Linked DNA regions of Homo sapiens: all the other regions are linked to region 1. Evidence: promoter capture Hi-C in human tissues and cell types (Jung and others, 2019). All regions are on one chromosome and are shown on one strand. The core of a region is centred on a gene start or on the middle of the fragment in contact, and the rest is flanking DNA. Distances in the headings are between cores, read along the strand shown.

Region 1 (2,943 bases), core at 1-2,500:
CTGGTTCTACGCTGTTCTCAGTACTGCAGACCCTGCAACAAATCCATGCCCCCCGCCACGGCCCGGGCACTGCCCCATGCAACTCCCTGGTACCTGGGCACCCGGCAGCCCAGCCCTCGTCACAGTGACCTCAGGGCCAGGCCCAGGGTACAGCACCAGCAGCGCCAGCTCTGGGGGGCCAGCTCCTCCAGGCGGGGGCTCCTGGAACCTCAGCGAGGGTGTTGGCTCCCAGGTCACTGCAGCCGGGACAGCAGGGGACGCCTGAGCCATTGAAGGCCACACCCCCCGGGAATCTTTGGGATCTGTCCCTGCCGCTCTGGCCACTGTGCAGGGGACCTCAAGCGGGGGACAAGGGTGCCCCTCTTAGCTGCCTTCCTGCAGCCAGGGAGCGGTGACGGCAGGGGCAGGCAGGGGCTGCGTCTGAGGCTGTGGGTGGGGCTGCCGCCCTGGGGTCTCTGGGTTGGGGTGCCCGATGAAGCCCCTTCCCCGCAGGGAGTATCTTAGGCCAGCGGCCCTGAGAACAGGCTGGGGCTGTGGGAAGAAGGGTTCCACTGGCCCCGAGCCCTGCGTCGTCTTCAGGGGTGGGGAGAAGGCAGCAGCTCTCTCCCTGGCACCGAGGCAGGGGCAAGTCTAAGAGCTGGGCTTCGGGGACAGGACAGAGTGTGGTGCCCACCTTCCAGGCCACGGACCCGCAACCCAGTCCTAGGAACAAGACCACAGCCTCCCTGCCCAGGGTGGGGGCTCTGCCAGCCCCTGATCTTCCCTAGGAGGACCCGGCCCACCTGAAGGAAGACGGCGGTGCCAAGCTTGGGGCTGGGCCCCACATACCTTCCTCCAGGTGTAGGACCACCAGGCGCTGCCCCCCAGGGTCCCGCAGCCAGGCCCCCAGCCGCCGTAGAGAGGGCAAGGCAGCCTGCCTGTCACCGGTGTTGCAGACCCCGAAGGTGGCCAGGTCTCGGGGGCCCCAGCGGGCCCTCTGCACGGCCCCCAGGAAGGCCTGCTCATAGGCGCTTAGAGCCCCCACCACCCGCAGGGGGGAGCTGCTGCCATTGCTGTCCCCGCCCAGTGCCACCAGGCACAGAGGCTCTTGTGGGCTGCCTGGAGGCCAGTCCAAGTCTTCTCGGAAGATGAGGCCACTGGTGCCCACAGCTGGCTCCTCTGCTCTGAGGGCCTCAGTCCCCAGCAGAGCCCCCAGGGCAGACAGCACTAGGGCCAGGCTGGTGAGAGGCAGGTCCCGCATCGTGGGTGCTGCCAGGGGCTGGGCTGCCTGCCTTAAGTGAGCCGAGTGGAAGGTGGGGTGTTTGTGCAGGACAGACCCCTATCTCCTCTGCCGCGACCTTGGGGGACAGTGCCCGGCGCCCCCACTCCAGGCAGAGTGGCCTTCTCAAAGAGCCCTTTCTGTCCCTGGCAGCCTATCTCCCTCCCCAGTGATAGAGCTGGGCCTGATGTGTCAACATGCCGTCCTTGAGGGCCATCCCCAGAAGACACAGGAGTGGGAACCAGGCTGGGAGTGACGGCCAGGCAACCAAACTAGACAGCGCTGGGGGCGGGGGGCCCAGATGTCCTGGGTGCTGAGGTGTGGGCCTGGAGGAGGAGGGTCCCAAGTCAGTGGGGGCGCCCTGTCCCTGCTCACCCTCCCCACCCCTGGTGGGCTATCTGGAGACCCCAAGGATATCGTGGAGTCTGCTCTTCCCTCCCCAGAACAGGACCCCAGATCCCCTCCTAGCTGGCTGGTGGGGTCTGTCCTCCACCAGGCCATCTCCAAGGTACAGCCATCTCTCAGGCCTCCCACAGGTGTCTCCTGGCGGGCCCCAGGCCCTCCCCAGTCGGCCCAAACTGGGGGATGGTGCTGTGCCTGGCACTCCCACACACACTGACACAGTAGGGCGGCGCTGCGGACATCAGTGCACTCAGGGCTGGGGGAGGCTGTTTAATGAGCGGGGGGCAGTACAAAAGAGCAGCCTTCTCTCAGTGGGAAAAGGCAAGAGCACCTGGCGCTGGGCTTGCTGGGGGAGGGAGCAGCTTCTCAGTTGGTTGGGGGAGGGGGAGGTATGTTCCCTGGGCCTTCGGAGGGAAGTGGGGGCCTCAGCATTGGGGGCATGGGAGTTGGGGGGTGCACCCCAGGATTTGAGGGGTGAACTCCCGGAGGCTGAGGGTGGACCCCAGGAGCCGACGGATGGACCCCGGGAGGTTGGGGGTGGACCCCCGGGGCCTGAGGGTGCATCCCTGGGGCTGGTGGGTGCACCCCTGGGGCCTGAGGGTGAACGGCGGGGGCTGCTGGGTGCACCCCCGGGGCCTGGGGGTGAACCCCCGCTGATGGGGGAGGATGGACCCCTGGGGCTGGTGGGTGAACCCCAGGGGCTGGTGGGTGGACTCCGGGGGCTGGTGGGTGAACCCCGGGGGCTGGAGGGTGGACTCCAGGAGCTGGGGGGTGGACCCCAGAGGTTGGTGGGTGGACCCCAGGGGCTGGGGGATGGACGCCAGGAGCTGGGGGGTGGACGCCAGGAGCTGGGGGATGGACCCCAGATGCAGGGGGATGCACCACTGGGGCCGGGGGGTGGACCCCTGGAGCTGGCGGGGGTAGCTGGGGTGGTCCCGGGGGCCCTGAGGGCGCAGGCCCTGTGGGGGGCATGGGTGGCAGAGGCAGGCCTCCTGGCGGGGGCGGTGGCAAAGACTCAGGCAGCGGTGGCCGAGGGGGCAGACCGTTCATCAGCGGGGGTGGAGGCCGCTTCACCCCAGGGGGGCCAGCAGGGAGGCTGGGTGGAGCCGGGGGCTTCTCCATCTTAAAGTGGAACTGGAGGAAGAACTAGAGAGACGGAGAAAGGTTCAGCAGGCACGGGTGGGGCTAGGGCAGGGCTAGGGCCGCCAGGGCTGGGTGGGAAGGAGCCAGGCTCGGGGCGAGCCACTCACCTGCTTGGTCTCCCGGTTCCAGTGTGTCCAGAA
Region 2 (2,943 bases), core at 246-2,745, 640 kb after region 1:
GCGTCAACCCCACACTCCTTAGTGCGGCATCTGTGACTTCCTCCACAACCGGATGCCCACGGAACCCACGGACAGAGCTCTCGGGGGGAAGGGGTGTGGCAGGACCTGTGGGGGCGCTGCTCATCCCAAAGTGCCCACTGGCAGGCATCTGCTGCTGTGCCCAGGGACTTGGCCGCTGCATCTCTGCGAGGACACAGCTGGACTGCCCTGCTCCCCTACAGGGTTGGGGTGGAAGGAGTGCCTTCCTGGCCACTTGACGGGGGGTGGCCCCCAGGAGAGAGCCCTTTGGCACACAAGTGCCTTAGGGAGGAGAAGGCTCAGCACAGTGACTCATATCTGTAATCCCAGCACTTCAGGTGGCTGAGGCGGGAGGATCGCCTGAGGCCAGGAGTTCCAGTCCAGCCTGGGCAACATAGTGAGACCCCATGTCTATAATTTTTAAGGGAAAGAGAGTGGCCAGGAGTTGACAGAAGGTGCTGAGGGAGCCCTGTCCACCACTCTACCCAGCTGGCCTCTAAATTCATGCTGGAAAACAACTTTTAAAATATACATTGGCCGGGCGCGGTGGCTAACGCCTGTCATCCCAGCACTTTGGGAGGCTGTGGCGGGTGGATCACTTGAGGTCAGGAGTTCGAGACCGGCCTGGCCAACATGGCGAAATCCCATCTCTACTAAAAATACAAAAATTAGCCGGGCATGGTGGCGCAAGCCTGTAATCCCAGCTATTTGGGAGGCTGAGGCAGGAGAATAGCTTGAACCCAGGAGGCAGGGATTGCAGTGAGCTGAGATTGCACCACTGCACTCTAGCCTGGGCGACAGAGCGAGACTGTCTCAAAAAATCAAAATTAAATTGGTTGTACCTGGTGACACACACTTGTAGTCCCAGCTACTTAGGAGGTTCAGGTGGGAGGATCGCTTGAGGTGGCAGTGAACTGTGATTGCACCACTGCACTCCAGCCTGGGCAACAGAGCCAGAACCTGTCAAAAAAAAAGGGTGGGCCAGGTGCAGTGGCTCATGCCTGTAATCCCAGCACTTTGGGAGGCCAAGGCGGGCGGATCACGAGGTCAGGAGATCGAGACCATCCTGGCTAACGGTGAAACCCCATCTCTACTAAAAATACAAAAAATTAGCCAGGCGTGGTGGCGGGCACCTGTAGTCCCAGCTACTCGGTAGGCTGAGGCAGGAGAATGGCGTGAACCTGGGAGGCGGAGCTTGCAGTGAGCCAAGATCATACCACTACACTCCAGCCTGCAGCCTGGGCGACAGCAAGACTCCGTTTCAAAAAAAAAGGGTGGAGGGGACATCCAGATGGTCCAACAAAATAACAAAAACCGGCTCAAGAAACAAAAAGGAAGTTCTATGTCATGTTGAATGGCTTCAGGCACAGCTGGATCCAGGTGTCATTACAAATCTCTCTCCATCTCTCAGCTCTTGTTTATGTCACTGTCTCTGATGAACTCTTTTTTTTGTCTGTTTGTTTTGAGACGGAGTTTCACTCTTGTTGCCCAGGCTGCAGTGCAATGGCGTGATCTCGGCTCACCGCAACCTCTGCCTCCCGGGTTTTCAAGCAATTTTCCTGCCTCAGCCTCCCGAGTAGCTGGAATTACAGGCATCCGTCACCATGTCCGGTTAATTTTGTATTTTTAGTAGAGATGGGGTTTCTCCATGTTGGTCACGCTGGTCTCGAACTCCCAGTCTCAGGTGATCTGCCCGCCTCAACCTCCCAAAGTGCTGGGATTATAGGCGTGAGCCACCGTGCCCGGCCACTGGTGAACTCTTACATTGTGGCATCTGGAAACTCTGGGCTGACATTCCAGCAGCCCTTGTGTTCCTGTCCTTTCTCTTAATAGTCTCTGTGTCAGCCCCTGCATCCCACTTTTTTAAGTTTCCACCAATGGGAAGAGTCTTATTCAGGTGCTCTCTGATCCCAAGCTCAAAAACCCCAAGCCAACTGGAAAGTTCTACAAACAATGCCCAGGGCCGGGCCCGGTGGCTTACACCTGTAATCCCAGCATTTTGGGAGGCGGATCACTTGAGGTCAGGAATTCAAGACAAGCCTGGCCAACATGGCCAAACCCCATCTCTACTAAAAATACAAAAACTAGCCAGGTGTGGTGGCTCACGCCTGTAGTCCCAGCTACTTGGGAGGCTGAGGCAGGAGAAGCTTGAACCCGGGAAGCGGAGGTTGCAGTGAGCCGAGATCGTGTCATTGCACTCCAGCCTGGGCCACAGAGCGAGACTCCGTCTCAAAAAAAAAAAGAAAGAAAAACAGTGCCCAGACTGTGGTGTCCAAAACCTATTTCCGGCTCCCACCCTGAGTCCTTAACCAGGGATAGGGATGGGTTAGCACCCGCAGTCCCCAGAGAGCTGCAGGCTTGGGGTGTACTGAGGGGCTGACCCCAGGAGGACAGGCCAGGCTGGGCAGAAGAACCCACGGTGTCCATTCCTTATCACGAGGCCTGCAAGTGACGCTGGCGCCCGAGAGACAAATCACGCCCAGTGCCCCGTCTAGGCTATGGCCTTTCCGTTCATGCTGTAAAGGTGCCTGTGGGTCAGGCAGTCCAGGAGGGCTTCCTGAGGGAGGCAACTCTTGAATATGGGGGAAAAGGCACAAAAGTGCAATGGCGGTGTCTGGGAATATGCCCCTCTTCCTTCTGCCCACACCGGCCCGGTGTGCAGGGGGGAGGCTGGAAGCTGGGAGCTGAGTGAGCATGTACGGTGCTGCGCCGGGTTGTGGGAGAGCAGAGGAAGCAGGGACTGGAGAAAGGCGAGCCCAAGCGAGCCTGGTGCGGTGGAAAGCAGGAGGCAGAAAGACCTGCCTGTCATCAGCTAAGAGCATCCAGAGACGTTCACCGAGCAAGGAGCCAGGCCACCCTCTGCTGCCGGAATGAGGAATAACCCAGGCTCGCAAACGGAATCCTGCAAAGAGATTTCCGACAGGG
Region 3 (2,943 bases), core at 268-2,767, 530 kb before region 1:
GGGCCAAGTTTTTTTTTTTTTTTTTTTTTTTGTCAGAAACAAAAGCAAGTAAACGGATTCATGTCAAATAACAGGTGTTGTGGAACAGTGCAGTAGCCTGACCTACATGCAGTGTTGTGGGTTAAAACAAAAAACATCTTGAACCATCTGTCTTGAACTGTTAGGGCACCCAGAAAAAACAATGTACTACAATTAAACTGGCAAAAACCAAAACAACCGACCTCCTTTCTTCCCTTTTTTTGTTTTTGTTTTGTTTTCTTTTGCTTTGGAGGGGCTGGAGGGAGTCTCGCTCAGTCGCCCAGGCTGGAGTGCAATGGCGCGATCTCGGCTCGCTGCAACCTCTGCCTCTCGGGTTCAAGCGATTCTCCTGTCTCAGCGTCCCGAGTAGCTGGGACTACAAATGCCCGCACCACGCCCGGCTAATTTTTGCATTTTTAGTAGATACAGGGTTTCACCGTGTTGGCCAGGCTGGTCTCGAACTCCTGACATCAAGTGATCTGCCCCCTGGCCTCCCAAAGTGCTGGGATTACAGGCGTGAGCCACCACGGCCGGCCTCACCTCCTTTATTTCTGCAAAAGAAATTAAAATAATCCACGCCATTAATCGTGCATGTATTTTGAGTAGGACGAAAATGAATTGGGAGAACATTTCTGGCAACTGTAACTTAGATGGTGATCAGTTTTCTGTCGTCCTTGGAAATGTCTCATCACATGTCTTGAGCAACACCAAGATTAATTTTACATCGGCGTTCATTTTCGCTGTTCCCTGTGCCTGGGGTCCGTTTGGACTTTCCTATCCTTGAAATCCAAATGTAAAGGATGATCTTTCCTACCCATCCCATGCGACTTAGCTCCCAGTGACAATCACACTACCTTCATTTTTTTTTTCTTAGTGTTTGCTGTGAAATTTGTTTCTCTATTTATGTACTAGTTTATTAGTTTATAGTCCGTCTACCCCAATGCAAAATAATGAGAGTAGACACTTTGCTGGTTTTTATGGCTGCTTTGCAATAAATATTGAATGAATATTAGGCACCTGCTGTCTACAAATGGCTCTATACTCACAAACGTCTCACACTGCATGAAAGAATGCATTTGTGGGTGAGTAGATGGGTGGGTGAATAAATGAACAAAGATAGTAAGCGGGTAACACTGACTCCCATTCATTGCGCAGCTGTGACGCTCTGGAGTCCAGGTGTCCAAACGCGGCTGCACCACGTGGCCGGCCCAGCACCACGTGGTCAGCTCGGCGACCGGCTGGAGTCAGCCACTGTTCCACCGTGCACCGCTTCATTCCCGCTCTAGAGGGCAAACCAGACCCGATTTCCGGCCTCCATTAGGTCGCAGAGGTCAGTTGCCCTAACAACCAGCTGGTTCCCGCCTCTACGTTGCGTCACTTCCTTCCACGCCCGCCTCCATCATTAACGCGCCTGTGCAGAAGGGAAGCAACTCCGGGCGCCTTTCTTTTGCGCAGGCGTCGCGCCCTGGGGCCGGGGCCGGGCGGCACCGCGGTGCGCAAGCGCAACCGTCGGTGGGTCGGGGATCGGTCGCCTGAGAGGTGAGTGAGGGGCACTGCGCTGAGCCTGGTGGGTCTGGGGTCTGCGGCTCGGGGCCCACGGGGCCCCAAAGCTCGTAAGAGTTTGGGGATCGTGAGGCCAGGGTCACCGCGACCCGCGGGGTCCTGTGAGTAGGCGGTGCGGAGGGGAAACTGAGGCCGGGCGCCATCGGGCAGGCCCTTCGAGCCCTGATCTCCCTTCCCCAGGCCCCAGGTCCTGGAAATGCTGGTCCGCGGCCTGGTGGCGAGGACGGCGGGAGGGGAAGGCGCCCCGCATGTAGTGAGCGCTCGCTGGGTGTTCGCTGCCGTTCCGCTCTTATTAACCGCCTGGAAACGTCGTCCCTGTGACTCAGGGACCCCCGTTTGTGGGGACTGAAGTCGGAACTCTGGTTCCAGCGCCGCCAGTCCCTACCTGGGTGACCTTGCCCAGCCTCTTGGCTTCTCGGAGCCTCAGTTTTCCCCTCTGTAAAACGGGCGTTGTTCAAAAGTCCCTGCCTAGGAGAAGGAGAGCCGCAGGGTCCAGCGGAATCTGAGAACTCCAAAGAATTAGCAGGCGTTCGTCTTATATCATGTTTAGAGTCTTCTTCTGCATATCGTGCTAGAGGTGGGGGAAATCTGGGATTCAGGACCGTCCACCACCACCTCCCACCCGCTGTGTAAACCTGGGTGAGTCGCCTTCCCTCTCTGAGCAAACTGTTCCTTCTTTCGCAAACGAGTTGTAAAAGCAGATGCCTCGGAGGGTCATTATGAGGATAAACCCACATTCAATTATTTGATCAGGTGCCTGGAACTTGATAAGAGAGAGCTGGCTTGAGAATAGCTGTTTTTGTTATTAGGTGCCAGAAAATTGCAGTGTAGTGTGCCCTTCAGAGGTTGAATGATTGTCCCATTTTCTTTTGTTTCTGTCTCTGATTATTCCTTTTGTCTGCCTTTTCCCTCCCTTGACCAGTGGTTCTCAACCAGGAACAATTCTGTGCCCCAGGGATTCTTGGTGACATTTGTGCTTGTCATGATTTGGGGGACCCCCTGGTTTGGAGTTGGTGGAGGCCAGGGTTGCTGCTCGGCACCCTGCAGTACCCAGGACGGCCTCACCCCAGAAAATGATCCAGCTTTAAATGTCAATAATGCTTTAAAAACCCTACCATACGGGCTGATGACCTGAGGTCAGGAGTTCAAGACCAGCCTAGCCAACGTGGTGAAACCCCGTCTCTACTGAAAATATGAAAATTAGCTGGGCATGGTGGTGTGCACCTGTAATCCCAGCTACTCAGGAGGCTGAGGCAGGAGAATCCCTTGAACCCAGGAGGCAGAGGTTGCAGTGACCCAACATCATGCCACTGCACTCCAGCCTGGGCGACAGAGCGAGACCCTGTCAAAAATAAAAAAAAA

Evidence for each region. The method cuts DNA at HindIII sites, captures the fragments that hold promoters and counts their contacts. A contact is called where the count stands out against the background at its distance.
Region 2: a fragment that was not itself captured here is called in contact with the fragment with the promoter of AMH in region 1 in 1 of the 25 tissues and cell types used here (dorsolateral prefrontal cortex).
Region 3: the fragment with the promoter of SGTA here is called in contact with the fragment with the promoter of AMH in region 1 in 1 of the 25 tissues and cell types used here (IMR-90 fibroblasts).

The regions. Positions count from the first base shown.
Region 1 is chr19:2,247,630-2,250,572 of GRCh38, reverse strand. It overlaps AMH (anti-Mullerian hormone), which reads right to left and starts at 1,250. Exons shown (of 5, transcript NM_000479.5): 1 at 829-1,250; 2 at 94-236. The coding sequence starts at 1,240. SF3A2 (splicing factor 3a subunit 2) reads right to left here. Exons shown (of 9, transcript NM_007165.5): 8 at 2,911-2,943; 9 at 1,918-2,806. The coding sequence ends at 2,027. RefSeq lists promoters at 1,241-1,272, 1,241-1,450, 1,241-1,520, 1,272-2,943, 1,241-2,943 and an enhancer at 1,168-1,307. The HindIII fragment of the contact is 11,600 bases long and covers 1-2,943 here.
Region 2 is chr19:1,605,910-1,608,852 of GRCh38, reverse strand. No RefSeq gene overlaps it. Among named protein-coding and RNA genes, the nearest start is that of UQCR11, 1.9 kb to the right of the region's middle. RefSeq lists enhancers at 182-251, 282-331, 1,814-2,435, 2,891-2,943. The HindIII fragment of the contact is 3,073 bases long and covers 1-2,943 here.
Region 3 is chr19:2,781,847-2,784,789 of GRCh38, reverse strand. SGTA (small glutamine rich tetratricopeptide repeat co-chaperone alpha) reads left to right here and starts at 1,517. Exons shown (of 12, transcript NM_003021.4): 1 at 1,517-1,557. RefSeq lists enhancers at 1,086-1,155, 2,652-2,751 and a silencer at 1,546-1,595. The HindIII fragment of the contact is 32,124 bases long and covers 1-2,943 here.